Regions from separate parts of the Homo sapiens genome. Here regions 2 and 3 are each linked to region 1. The links are contacts of gene promoters, found by promoter capture Hi-C in blood cells and fetal thymus (Javierre and others, 2016). All regions are on one chromosome and are shown on one strand. Each heading gives the region's core, a stretch centred on a gene start or on the middle of the fragment in contact. The rest is flanking DNA. Distances are from core to core; before and after follow the strand shown.

Region 1 (3,755 bases), core at 686-3,185:
TTGGATGAAGGTATTGTAGATGCCTTTCTGCCAAACATTTTCTGTGTATCCCTTTGGTTTTTGCGCAACATCCACCTTACAGCAGAAGACACAAGAAATCATTTTGGAGAATGAGCCTTCCAGATACTGTAAAGTTTCCCTCTTTTTCCAAGTACAAATTTGACATATCACAGAATATGCTAAATCCTTTACCTATAATTTTCATTTATGTCCACATTTCTAAATAACATATGTAAAATACTGGCCAGGATTTCAAGTCATTAAAAATGGAGAAGGGGTGGGAAACAACTGAGTGGCAACTACACTAGAGAAAACAACTTATAAAAAAGAAAAAATATGGACTATACCAGTCTCCTAAAAAGACTCACTGACTCAGAATAGAACTAAAAATCTATGCCGGGCGTGGTGGCTCACGCCTGTAATCCCAGCACTTTGGGAGGTTGGGGCGCGCGGATCACTTGAGGTCAGGAGTTGGAGACCAGCCTGGGCAACACTCTGAAACCCCGTCTCTGCTAAAAATACAAAACTTAGCTGGGCGTGGTGGCACACGCCTGTAGTCCCAGCTACTTGGGAGGCTGAGGCACGAGAATCTCTTGAACCCGCGAGGCGGAGGCTGCAGTGAGGAGAGATCACGCCACTGCACTCCAGCTTGGCGACAGAGCGAGACTCGGTCCCAAAAAATAATAATAATTAAAAATCTACTTAACCTGTAAACCGGGGTAGAGGCGCGGATTTCCCAGCTGAAACCGACTGCCTTTCACTGCAAAGGTCTGTTACATCCCAGCGCTGCCCACCACCCAAAGTTAACACCAAAGGAGTTCAAAACTCCTCAAGAGTGGCCCACAGAAAAGGCGGGGGACTTCAGGGCTTGCCAAGATCCCAGGAGCCGGCCAATCCCGATTCTGCAGACTGTTAGGTCCCCCGACTTTTTTGCACACCTACCCTCTGGTCAACCGAATAATATCCCCTGGCTGTATAAGACCTCCGATCTCATCCCACACGGAAATAGTGATGCTGCCCGTTTTATCTGCTACTTTGCACGATCTCACTTCATGGCCGTCTTTGGTTTTGGTCACGCGTCCTGTGAGGATTTAAAAATCAAAGGGAGGGGTTGTTAGATAATGAGGACATCCAGAAAGGCTAACTCCTCCTCCGGTATTTTAATACATCTGGAAGGTGGGAAGTGACCAAGCCCAGGGCTCCCGCCTCAGGTAGGATCCGATCTCGGGCGGAGGCCACTAGAGCCACGTGGGTGGGGGAGGGGAGGGAGGAGGAGGGGAGCCCCGGGCGCGCAGCGGCCGGCGCCCCTGTCTCCCGCCCCGGGAGGCACAGCGGGCGGTGGAGTAGGCTGCAAACCCCACTTACCTATCTCCAGGACAATAAAGACGACATTTAAGTTTTTCAGTCCGGGCTTAATATCTCTTATAAAAATAAGTGGGTCGTTGACCCTATTCATATTGGGACAGGCGCGGCTACGGCTGCGGAGACGCGAGTGGGCAGGGCGGGGTCAAAGCTTCCCACCCTCCCGGGACAGGGGCGAAGGCAGAGGGGCGACCTTGGGCAGGGGTGGCGAGAGAAGGGGCAGAAAGCCGTTAGTCAGGGACCGGGCAAACCAGCCCGGACAGCACTGAGCCTAAAAAAAGAAAAAAAAAAAAAAAAAAAAAAAAGGCTCACAAGTTCTAAAGAAAAAAAGGCGAACCACTCCGCACACCAACCCCGCTCCCAACCGGGCGACAGGAAGGCAAGCGTACTAACTGCCCCGTTCTTTGGATAAAAGGAAAAAAAAACGCAGTGAGGGGACACTTCTGCCCTGAGTCCCGCTCACTCACACGGGCGCGCGCCCAGCCTGTCCCGGGCTCCGGGAAGGAACGGGCTGTGACAGCGAAACGGGAGCGGAGACAGAACACCGCACACCCAGCGTCCCAAACAGCGACTGATGAACACGCCCGCGCGCCGGCAGGACCCTCGGCCCGCCCCTCCCCTTGTGAAGTCACGCTGCGTCGGCACGCCTGCTGCCACGCCCGCCTGGTGCTGGGGAGGGGAAGCAAAGGGGCGGGACCCGGCCGCCGCAGCCCGCAGAGCTTCCCTCGCTCCTCCCCGGGGGCTGTCAGCGCGGGCTCCGCCCCCTCGTCCTTCCAATCGCTCTCGGCCCCGCCTCCCCCGCCCTCCCGTTCTCCACCCACTTCAGCTGTCGCCGCGCAGCAGCAGTTCTGTTCGGTTTCGCCTTCCTGCTGTGCAGTCTTTTGACGCTTGCTGTCCAACTTTGGAGTTTTCTTGCCTTTTTTTCTCTCAGAGTTGAGCCCCTGCCCGGGCCCTTTAGTCCCTCGGTCACGAGGAACGGTAGAGTTTAGAACCTGTGAGTACGTTAGAAAGTTCGCAGTCGAGGAAGAACAGGGTTCGGGCAAGGGCAGCTGGTCCGGTACCAAGGGAAAACAGGCTGGGATGGTGAAGGCGTCAGTGGCTACAAGGCTGGAAGTTTAGCACCAGAAGGGAATTTGGAGATCAATTCAACCGCCTCATTTCAGGCATACTTAAATTGAAACCCAGAAAGATGAGGTAATTTGCAGAAGGTCACCCAGCAACCCCTGAGCAGGCAGGACTGCAACACAAATGTCTGACGTGGGCTTCCACTGTGTAATGCTAAGCAGATAGGACGTAAATTCCTTTGCAGACTTCTCATTTTTCCTTACCCCCTGCCTCTCATATTACACACCTTCCCCATTTAGCTTTTCTTCTTTTACTTTGCACTTGCTTTTGTACATCTAAAAGGAATTAATTATTCAACAGCAGTGGGAACCCTTGAAACATAATCTGGAAAAAAAGATTAATAAAGTTTTTTTTATGTCGCGTAGTGAAAAGAGCATGTGCTTTAGAGACAAACCTGGGCTCCAGCTATTTACTTGTGAGAGCTTTAGGTCAATTGGCTTTTATTACAGCTTTTTAACCATAATAAAATGGGGATCCCTGCCTAGCAGAAGATTGATTAAATGGATCATAAATTGTCCAACTAGTGCCTAGCAAATAGTACATACTCAGTATTTTCCCCTTTTTAATCCCCGTTTTACAGGCGATGGAACTCACCAGAGACCAGATAGCTAGAGAATGGCTGAGCTGGGTTTTAAATCTAGTCAATCTTGACCCCAGAGCTCTCCAGCCTAAAGGTAATGTTTAGACTTAACTTCCAGTGGTGTCATTATAAGAGTCAAAAACAGACTGAAGAAATAAAATAGCAGAATAAAGTAGTGGGGCATTAAAGAATCATCTAGTTAATTCTTGGTGATGATAACAGAAATGTTGGGAAAAGTGTCAGAAGCCTTAATTTTCTCCCCATTCTTTCTGAGTATCTTTAGATCAACCACCACTTCCCAAGTATTTGCAAACAAGCAGCATAGATATTATAGCCCTAGAAAGAGTTGGAAACATTATCACAACATTAGCAAGAGAGTCAAGGCATTTTTAAGGAAACAGAAGCTTCCATTTCATGAACTAATAAAGCCCAAGGTGCCAAAGACACTGATGTCATACTGGAAAGTGGTGTAAAATAAAATTATAAGCATAATTTCAACATCAAATAAAACAAATGATGAAACATGCCAGTTAATGGCAGAGCCAGCGTCCAACCTCAATCCCAATCCAGCTCAGAAGCTCTAATTCTACCATGGTTATCTGGCAGGACTTGACACTTCAATTGGATTGTACTCAAAGCTGTATTTTCTTAAACAGGCAAAATATTCTCACAGAAGCAATATTTAAGG
Region 2 (4,141 bases), core at 679-3,178, about 14 Mb before region 1:
TAACTTTTTCCACCAAACAAAGAGGAAGAAAACCACAGAAGAAAATCCAGAATAGGCCGGGCGCGGTGGCTCACACCTGTAATCCCAGCACTTTGGGAGGCCGAGGCGGGCGGATCACGAGGTCAGGAGATCCAGACCATCCTAGCTAACACAGTGAAACCCCGTCTCTACTAAAAATAGAAAAAATTAGCCGGGCGTGGTGGCGGGCGCCTGTAGTCCCAGCTACTCGGGAGGCTGAGGCAGGAGAATGGCGTGAACCCAGGAGGCGGAGCTTGCAGTGAGCTGAGATCGGGCCACTGCACTCCAGCCTGGGCGAAAGAGCAAGACTCCGTCTCAAAAAAAAAAAAAAAAAAAAAAAGAAAATCCAGAATATTTAGGTAAGTACTATATTCAAAGTTATATGATAAAGATAAGGTTCAGCTAGAAACTAATAAATATCCGATATATGCATTACATGAACTCACTTTTAAATCAGGACAATTTCTAAATTTGGAAGTTATTTCTAAATGTTGTGTAATAAATTTTACAAAGAAATTAAATATTCTACTGATTCAGGGCACTAATATAACAAATTCATTCCTGCCAGGTTAGTCAACATGTGTTAGAAAAATAACTTTTAATACAAGATTTAAATCATCATCCCCAGTAGAACATACAAAGATAGTCGGTTCTTTTTCTATTATTTTTCTCTTTCTTCACAAAAATAGAAAAATGTCTCTGCAATTTATCCTCCAATAAGCGTTCTATTGGAATCGATGTAAATGGGTACCCTTTGTCCCTCTCACCTCTGTGCTAACAGCATTGTTTAACTCTGATCCCATTTATCTAGTAAGCTTTGCTCATTTAAAAAAGTAAATTCATGACATCCACTGCAATATACAAAAAGTCTATCATACAGGCTGGCAGCACATTGGAAGTTCTGAACTAACATAACTAACAAAAATAGCCACATTTCTCAATTCTGTGACACAAAAAGCAGATAGCAACATGTGTAATGCACCAAAGATCTAGCTAGAGTTTAAAGAATCTAAATAAATAAAAAAATTAAATGCCCGGATATAATTCTTAATAAGCTATTTTACCTCAAGAAAAATCTAAGGCTGTCTTTAAAATCTCTTTCCAGTTTTACTGTATCCTTTCTGTATGGGCAGCATAACAGAATTTCCAGAAACAGGGGCCGTTTTTAAATCCCCAGTGATAGCTGCCTTTATCTGCACTGTGGAAAATGACACACTGTATCATGCCTTTCTGGACAGTCCATAGGTTTTATTTACATTGCTTTGAGAAACAGACGAAAGACATGTTTTTTTACAATTGTCTTACAGCAATCTGTTCTGAGAGTAACATGTAACACAAATTTTTATATGCAATATATGAAAACATAAATATTTATATATACAATAACATAACCAGACAAATAAATGAAGTTACTATTAAGTCTCTTTAAGTATAAATTTACAAACTGACCACCAGCCACAGAACTTAGCCCTGTAATGGAGAAAAATTATTACTGGCTTAAAAAAATATTAAAATATCACTGTCACTAACATGAAAAAAATTAAAAACAGAAAATAAAAAACAATAACCACCGGAAAACCTGTGTCTTGTAAAGATTTCTTTCCATCAGAAGATGCAGAAACATTTTTCCCCCTGGAGCAAATGAAAACGTTTCTCATGCACCCCCCGTTTCTTCCCTGCTTTCTCCCCCAGGCGCGGGTGTAGACGGCCGGTGTGGACTTTTTTCCAGAGATGAGAAGTAAAAATTTGTACTTTATCGGGAGCGGGTGCACTTTTCCCCCTGGCCCCCCTTTGCTCTGCCTCCAAGATGGTAGGAAAGTTGTCGTTTCGGAGGGCAGAGGAGCAGCTCTCTGGTGTTATGTCCTCGCAGTGCCTGTAGTGGTGCTGTAGGAGGCTGCTGCCTCTTCTTGTACAGCCCCGGCAGCCCTGCCTTCTTGGCTGGAGAGTATATTCAGGGATTTCCCCTTAATAATCACCGACCCTGGGAGCACTTTTTAGTTTCCAAAATAAAAATATGATCCTCACCCCTCTTGCTTGACAGGGAAAGGCTCTCGCCGGAGCCCAGGGGGGAGCAGTAGCAGCGGCAGCCGAGCTTCCTAGTCCATTGCCAGCGCCTCTCACTCTGATCTGTCAGCCCAGCCGAGGGAACAGGGGGGAAGGAGAAAAAAAAAAGCAGCTGAAAGGTAAGCAGAGGCGGCCCCAGGCCCGGCCCACATCCCCGGGCTCCCGTAGGGCGGCGGGCTGGGCCGCGCAGGCTGGGCGGGCGGCGAGCGCGCTTACGTGAGGCCGGGGATTCGCCGGCCCACGCCAGGCCCCGGGCGGAGAATGAAAGGGTGAGTGGGGCCGGCGCCCGGGTGGTGGAGGCCGGGGGCCTGAGGGCCTCCGGGGCGCCCGCGGGCGGCGACGGCGGGCGGGCAGGGGTCCAGCCGGAGCCGGAGTGGGGCGAGCGGAGCGGCCTGCGCGGGCCAGGTGGGGGTGTGCGGCGGGAGGGGGGGGCGCCGGTAGGCCTCGGGCCGGTAGGCCCCACGGCAGCCGCGCCCTGCCCCCGCACCCCGGGCCTCCGCGCGCCCCCTCGAGTCCCCCGGGGTCTCCGGGTGGGACGGCGGCGCTGCTGGGCCGAATCCCGCGCCGGCCCGGAGGCTTTCCCGCGGGGCGGCAGGCCCGGGCTGCCGGGACAGGGGCGTCAGGGCCTAGGAGTGGGGAGTGGGGAATGGGCGCCCGGCTCCCCTTCCCCCGGGTCTCTCGCAGACGGCCCCCAGATTCCGGTAAGAGTTGAATTTATTTATCCCCCTCCTCCGCGCTCCGGACGGCCAGGCCGGGGCGGGGCGGGGCGGGCGGCCTGGCGGGCGTGGGGTCGGGTGGAGGGGCGGTGAGGAGTCAGGTGCAGCCGCGGCCCAGAAAGTTTCCTTTTAGGCCCGAACTGGGGGCCGCTGTCTCTCCGGGGAGCCCTGGTCCTAGCGCCCGGGACCCCCCAGGGCGTGGGGGAGCGCACTCGGCTATTTTGAAACTCTTTGCCAGTTCCTGTCCATTGAAGAAGGTACTCCGCCCCTGCACCCCTCGCCCGCGCCCCACCCAACTCCCCGCGAGCCCATTCGGGGCTGCTAACTCCAGCCCCTTCCCCCTAGAGCCCCCCAGGTTGGGGAGAGGGCCTTCTCTTCCGGTTTGGAAAAGTTTGCAAGGGGCTTTTCTTAGCTTTATTAGTTAGTGACTGGGTTTTTGGGGTGGGAAGGAGGAGGTAAACTCAGGTGGTGTTTCTGCCGGACAATCTTTCCCTATTGCCTTTTTTAGCCCTTACCCCACCAACTGGGGGTGTTATTTTCAGCTTGAGTACCCACCCCCTTTCATCCCGATTCCTTTGGGTCCAAAATCCCCCTTCTGGACAGCTCCGGCGGAGAGGAAGATGTAGGGAGCAGCGAGGAGACTGTCAGTGAGAGGGGCAGGATCAGGCAGGGTTTCTGGAGCAGTCCCCAGATGTAGGAGTTTCCCCTCCTTTTTGGTCACTGTCCGGTAAAACCAACACCGGAACAGATCCCAAGGGGGAGACGTGGTTGTCAGATGGCTTGGAAGCCTCCGGGATTGGGAGGAGGGAGAGGAAGTGGGCAGGGCAGCTCCCGAAACAAGGTCTACAGTTTAAGGATCAGTAGTTCATTTATTCTGATAATCACTGTTTAGTTTTATGTGACATTCTTGTATTCGACCTAGAAATAGAGTAATGGAGATTTTAAGGAAACCTAAACTTGTTATTGCTACAACTCAGAAGGGTCTGTGGAAGAGCCCTCGGAACCTAGCAAAACTACTTTGGTTTTGGGGTGTGTGTGTGTGTGTGTGTGTGTGTGTGTGTGTATGTATAACATTTAAACGAAAAAAAAATATATGTGTATGTATATATTTTATATGCATATATAAACACATATATATTCATACACACACACGTATGTTTTCTGTTTAAATGGATTCAATTTTAGCTATATTTTGGTGCCCTGAGCTCTGAACGTTAAAAAAAAAAAAAGTGATAAACATAAATTTCCAAATCTCGATTTTCTGCTTTTCAGGGACAGGATGTTTCCCGTGGCTATGCTTACCTCCTTGTTGTTCTTGAGTGTTGACATTGAAATGTTAATAG
Region 3 (3,615 bases), core at 561-3,060, about 16 Mb before region 1:
CCAGAAGGTTTGTACGTATCAATCACAATGCAATCATACAGTGACAGACAAGTATTTTTAAAACAAACTTGTTCGTCTTTTGCACCACCTAAAATAACTGTTCGGGGCTTTACTTTTAAATCACGAAATGAGCCATAAATGTAAAAGATTTCAATAGGCAGCAATCAAAAGTATCTTCTACTAAACCTTCAGAAGTTAGACGCCAGCTGAGGTTAGAATTATAACTTGAGATGGTATTACAAACTTAAATAGGTCATACCGCACGTCCTTCAAAAACTGTCTTTTAATTTTTAATGTGTCAATGACTTTTCTGCTGTCCTCTTTTCCCAACAGGCGAAGAAAAAATACAGCTTGTGGCTTAAATTGTCAATCTCAAGACGGGGGTTACCTACTGCATGAGACAAATAATGGATACTTTAATGTCTATTTTTAGTAGTAGTATTAAATCAATCTCTCATTAAAGTTCACACAGAAATTCGTGGGAAATATGGTAGGGGGAGTGGGACGGAGGGTGAGGGGAGATCCAGATGACCCAAACGCGGTTGGCAAGGTTGCACCCCGCGAAATGATGTAAAACAAGAGTACATCGGCTGATACTCGTTCCAACGAAGTGTTTCAGAATGATAGATCTCAAGTGATGATTACCTTATTAAAAAGGGTTAAAACCGAAACTGTTTTCAAACACCAGCTTCCCTTTTATAAGATCCCAACAGTTTAAAAAGTTATTATAAATGTTTTTCTTAGCACCCTTTCTCCCAAAAAGCATGCATTTCCATGACTGACTTTAAAAAAAAAAAAAAAGCAAAGGGGTGAGGGAGTCAAAAATTCCCCCCAAAAGCACAAGCTCTCATCTCTCAACTAAGCAACACAGGGCAGAAAGCAGCATTTCCTCAACGGTGTAGGAGCGGGGGGGAAAGGGCACGAATAAAATACAGCACGAGAGGAAACCTTGGGTTTCGAACTTTATTGCACAAAGAGTGGAGAGAAGAGTAGGTCAGACGTTGCAGCTCTTCCCCTTGCGAAGCGGGCATGGCAGGCACCGAAGCCACCGGGAAGGCAGCAGGCACCTTCACCTCCTCTGCCCTCAACTGTCGCCTTCTTCCTCCTCCATCCCCCACCGGCACCTAGGCGGCGGCTGCCCCGGAGGCCCGGCCGGGTCGGGCCGGGGGCGAGGCGGGCGGCGGGGGCCGGACGAGCGAGCGGCGCGGGGGGCAGCGCCGGGCCGAGCGGGCGGCCTCCCCCGGGGCGGCTCCGGGTTCCCGGCTCCGCGCCCGGCCCGGCGGCGGCGGCGGGAACGCGGGCGCCAGCTCGCCGCGGCCGGCCGCCCGCACACACCCCCGGCCGCCGGCTCCCACCCCGCCCGCCGCCCGCCGCCCGCCGCCCCCCGCCATGAGCGCCGCCGCTGGCTGCAGGCAGAGTCGCTGCCGCCCCGGCCGCCGCTGGCTCCAGTCCGCCGCCATTATTCTTTGTTCGCTGCGAGCGGCGGCGATGTTGTGGGGCTCGGGCGGAGGCTCCATCTTTACCGCGGCCCCTCCTGCGAGGGGAAGGCCCCAAGCGCGGGTGTCCGGCGCCTCCCCGTCCCCCCTCCGTCCCCCCGGCTCTCTCTGGCTCCTGCCTCCTCCTCCTGCTCCTCTTACCGGTGGTACAAGCTCCTCCGTCACTGCTTTCGTTCACGGCCCGGATCTCGCTGGAGTTTTATTCTCTCCCCCACGTAACACACCGCGTCAAACTACACCTCCGCCGCGTCACTCACCAACACTCCGCTTCTCCCAGCCGCCCGGGCCACAGGCAGCAGCAGCCGCCGCCGACTGAGGAGCCGCAGCCAGGGAGCCAGCCAGCGCCGCCCAGTGCCGAGTGCGCAGCGGCCGCGCACGGAAACAGCCGAGCTAGGCCCGGAGCAGCTCGAGCGGCCCCGCCCCCGCGCTGGGGACGGAACTTGCCGAAGACCTTCGGGTTTCTTCGGGCGACGAGAAGGGGTTCCGCGGGGAGAGGGAAGGCGAAGGCGGGCTGAGCCCGGCGCCGGGAGGAGTGGTCTAAACTCCACCGCGGCTTTCGCATCGGTAAAGCCGGCAGCGGAAATTTGAAGGAGGAAGCGGGGTTTGTGTGTGGCCCAGTGGGGGAATTCCCGAGGGGTGTCGGCGACTTGGTGGAAACCCCCGCTCAGGCCTGCCCCTGCGGCGGTGAGCGGCGGGCTAGAAGGCGGCTGCGGCTGCCCTGGCTCTGCTCTTGACCGCCGCCAGCCCCGGGAACTTTCCGACGCCGCCGGGAGACGGGGGACGGGCAGCCCGGGCTGGGACGCGGCCGGACCGCTGGAGCCGTGCGGGCTGGGGAAGAAGGTCTGCTGCGCCTCTGCCAACGTCCCGGGGCCTGGGACCCGGGGGCGTCGTGGGACCCCCGTGGGGACGGGTTTTCCTTTCCGAGACTCCGCGGAGAAACCTGGCGGCCGCCAGCGGAGCATGCTTTTCCGGGGGGCGCTGGCCCCGATACTGTGGCACCTTGCGGGGCTCTGCCCGGACCATGGCTGACGTCGACGGCCCTCGGAGGCCTCCAAGCCACACAACCTGCCCGGACCCCTGGAAATATGCCCCATCCTACCTCCCCGCCTTTCTCCAGACAACATCCTGTGTCGCTTTCTTTCCTCAGCCTGTTTTCTACAGCAGGGATTCGCACCCACTGCACCCTAAACCCAGCAGGGGGACTTCCGTGGCTGGAAACTACTGAATTGTTCTTTCAGAGGTCTCTCAGGACGGCACCACTAGGTCCCCATTCTCCTTGATAGTGAACTCTGCAGCCCTCTCCTTGGGGTTTCAAGTCTTTTTTTTTTTTTTTTTTTTTTTAATGAGACGGAGTCTAGCCCTTGTCGCCCAGGCTGGAGTGCAGTGGCACGATCTCGGCTCACTGCAACCTCCGCCTCCCGGTTTCGAGCGATTCTCCTGCCTCAGCCTCCCTAGTAGCTGGGATTACAGGCACCTGCCACCACACCTGGCTAATTTTTGTGTTGTTAGTAGAGACGGGGTTTCACCATGTTGGCCAGGCTGGTATGGAACTCCTGACCTCAGGTAATCCACCCGCCTCGGCCTCCTAAAGTGGTGGGGTTACACGTATGAGCCACCGCGCCCGGCCTCAAGTCTTAATCATTCTTTTTCTGTCCTTTAAAGGAGACGTGTCTTTAGGAAGCAGAGAGGGTTCGATTCTGGACTCCGCCCATGACTCACTTCTCTTGTAAAGAAAGAGTTGTCCTTCCTGGTACTCCAGGTACCCTACTGTTTTCTTATGGACTTTGCCCTTAACGAGTCTCCTTTCCTTCTGTTACTCTCAACCTTTCCTTCTCTACCGGCTCTTTCTTACTGGTATTTAAACATGCTTAAGTCTTTCAATTCTTTAAAAAGATTTCTCTTCTCCCTAAATTGCTCTCCAACAACTGCAGCTGTCTCTTACCCCATGGACAGTCTTTCATGTCCCACCTCCCAGCCCTCTCCAGTGTCCCCACCGCTCACCTGAAGTGGCTCTGAATTGTCCACAGACAAGCTTCATGACTGTAAATGCAGCGGATCATTTTCAGTCCTCATTTTACAAGCCCTCATCCCAGTATTTGACGCGATTGACCACAGTTGC

The links. Contacts are between HindIII fragments. The CHiCAGO score rates a contact against its expected background, and 5 or more counts as called.
Region 2: the fragment with the promoter of INO80D here is called in contact with the fragment with the promoter of NABP1 in region 1 in 1 of 17 cell types (total CD8 T cells); the score reaches 8.5 in total CD8 T cells.
Region 3: the fragment with the promoter of CREB1 here is called in contact with the fragment with the promoter of NABP1 in region 1 in 2 of 17 cell types (naive CD8 T cells and total CD4 T cells); the score reaches 7.9 in naive CD8 T cells.

Annotation. Positions count from the first base shown.
Region 1 is chr2:191,676,316-191,680,070 of GRCh38, reverse strand. NABP1 (nucleic acid binding protein 1) reads right to left here and starts at 1,935. Exons shown (of 6, transcript NM_001031716.5): 1 at 1,366-1,935; 2 at 943-1,081. The coding sequence starts at 1,456. RefSeq lists enhancers at 1-764, 1,592-2,094, 2,304-2,383 and silencers at 1,234-1,293, 1,894-2,243. The HindIII fragment of the contact is 1,958 bases long and covers 1,516-3,473 here.
Region 2 is chr2:206,083,961-206,088,101 of GRCh38, reverse strand. INO80D (INO80 complex subunit D) reads left to right here and starts at 1,928. Exons shown (of 11, transcript NM_017759.5): 1 at 1,928-2,201. INO80D-AS1 (INO80D antisense RNA 1) reads right to left here and starts at 3,447. Exons shown (of 2, transcript NR_186084.1): 1 at 3,354-3,447; 2 at 598-2,145. RefSeq lists enhancers at 1,672-1,781, 1,792-1,841, 1,346-2,165, 1,892-2,181, 3,810-4,141 and silencers at 2,232-2,441, 2,522-2,691, 2,712-2,911, 2,952-3,001, 2,903-3,197. The HindIII fragment of the contact is 4,007 bases long and covers 836-4,141 here.
Region 3 is chr2:207,528,157-207,531,771 of GRCh38, reverse strand. CREB1 (cAMP responsive element binding protein 1) reads right to left here and starts at 1,810. Exons shown (of 8, transcript NM_004379.5): 1 at 1,638-1,810. LOC124907970 (a long non-coding RNA gene) reads left to right here and starts at 2,175. Exons shown (of 3, transcript XR_007088060.1): 1 at 2,175-2,336; 2 at 3,159-3,255. RefSeq lists enhancers at 1-93, 1,682-1,781, 2,042-2,241 and silencers at 502-671, 1,382-1,431, 1,462-1,591, 2,262-2,441. The HindIII fragment of the contact is 5,804 bases long and covers 1-3,530 here.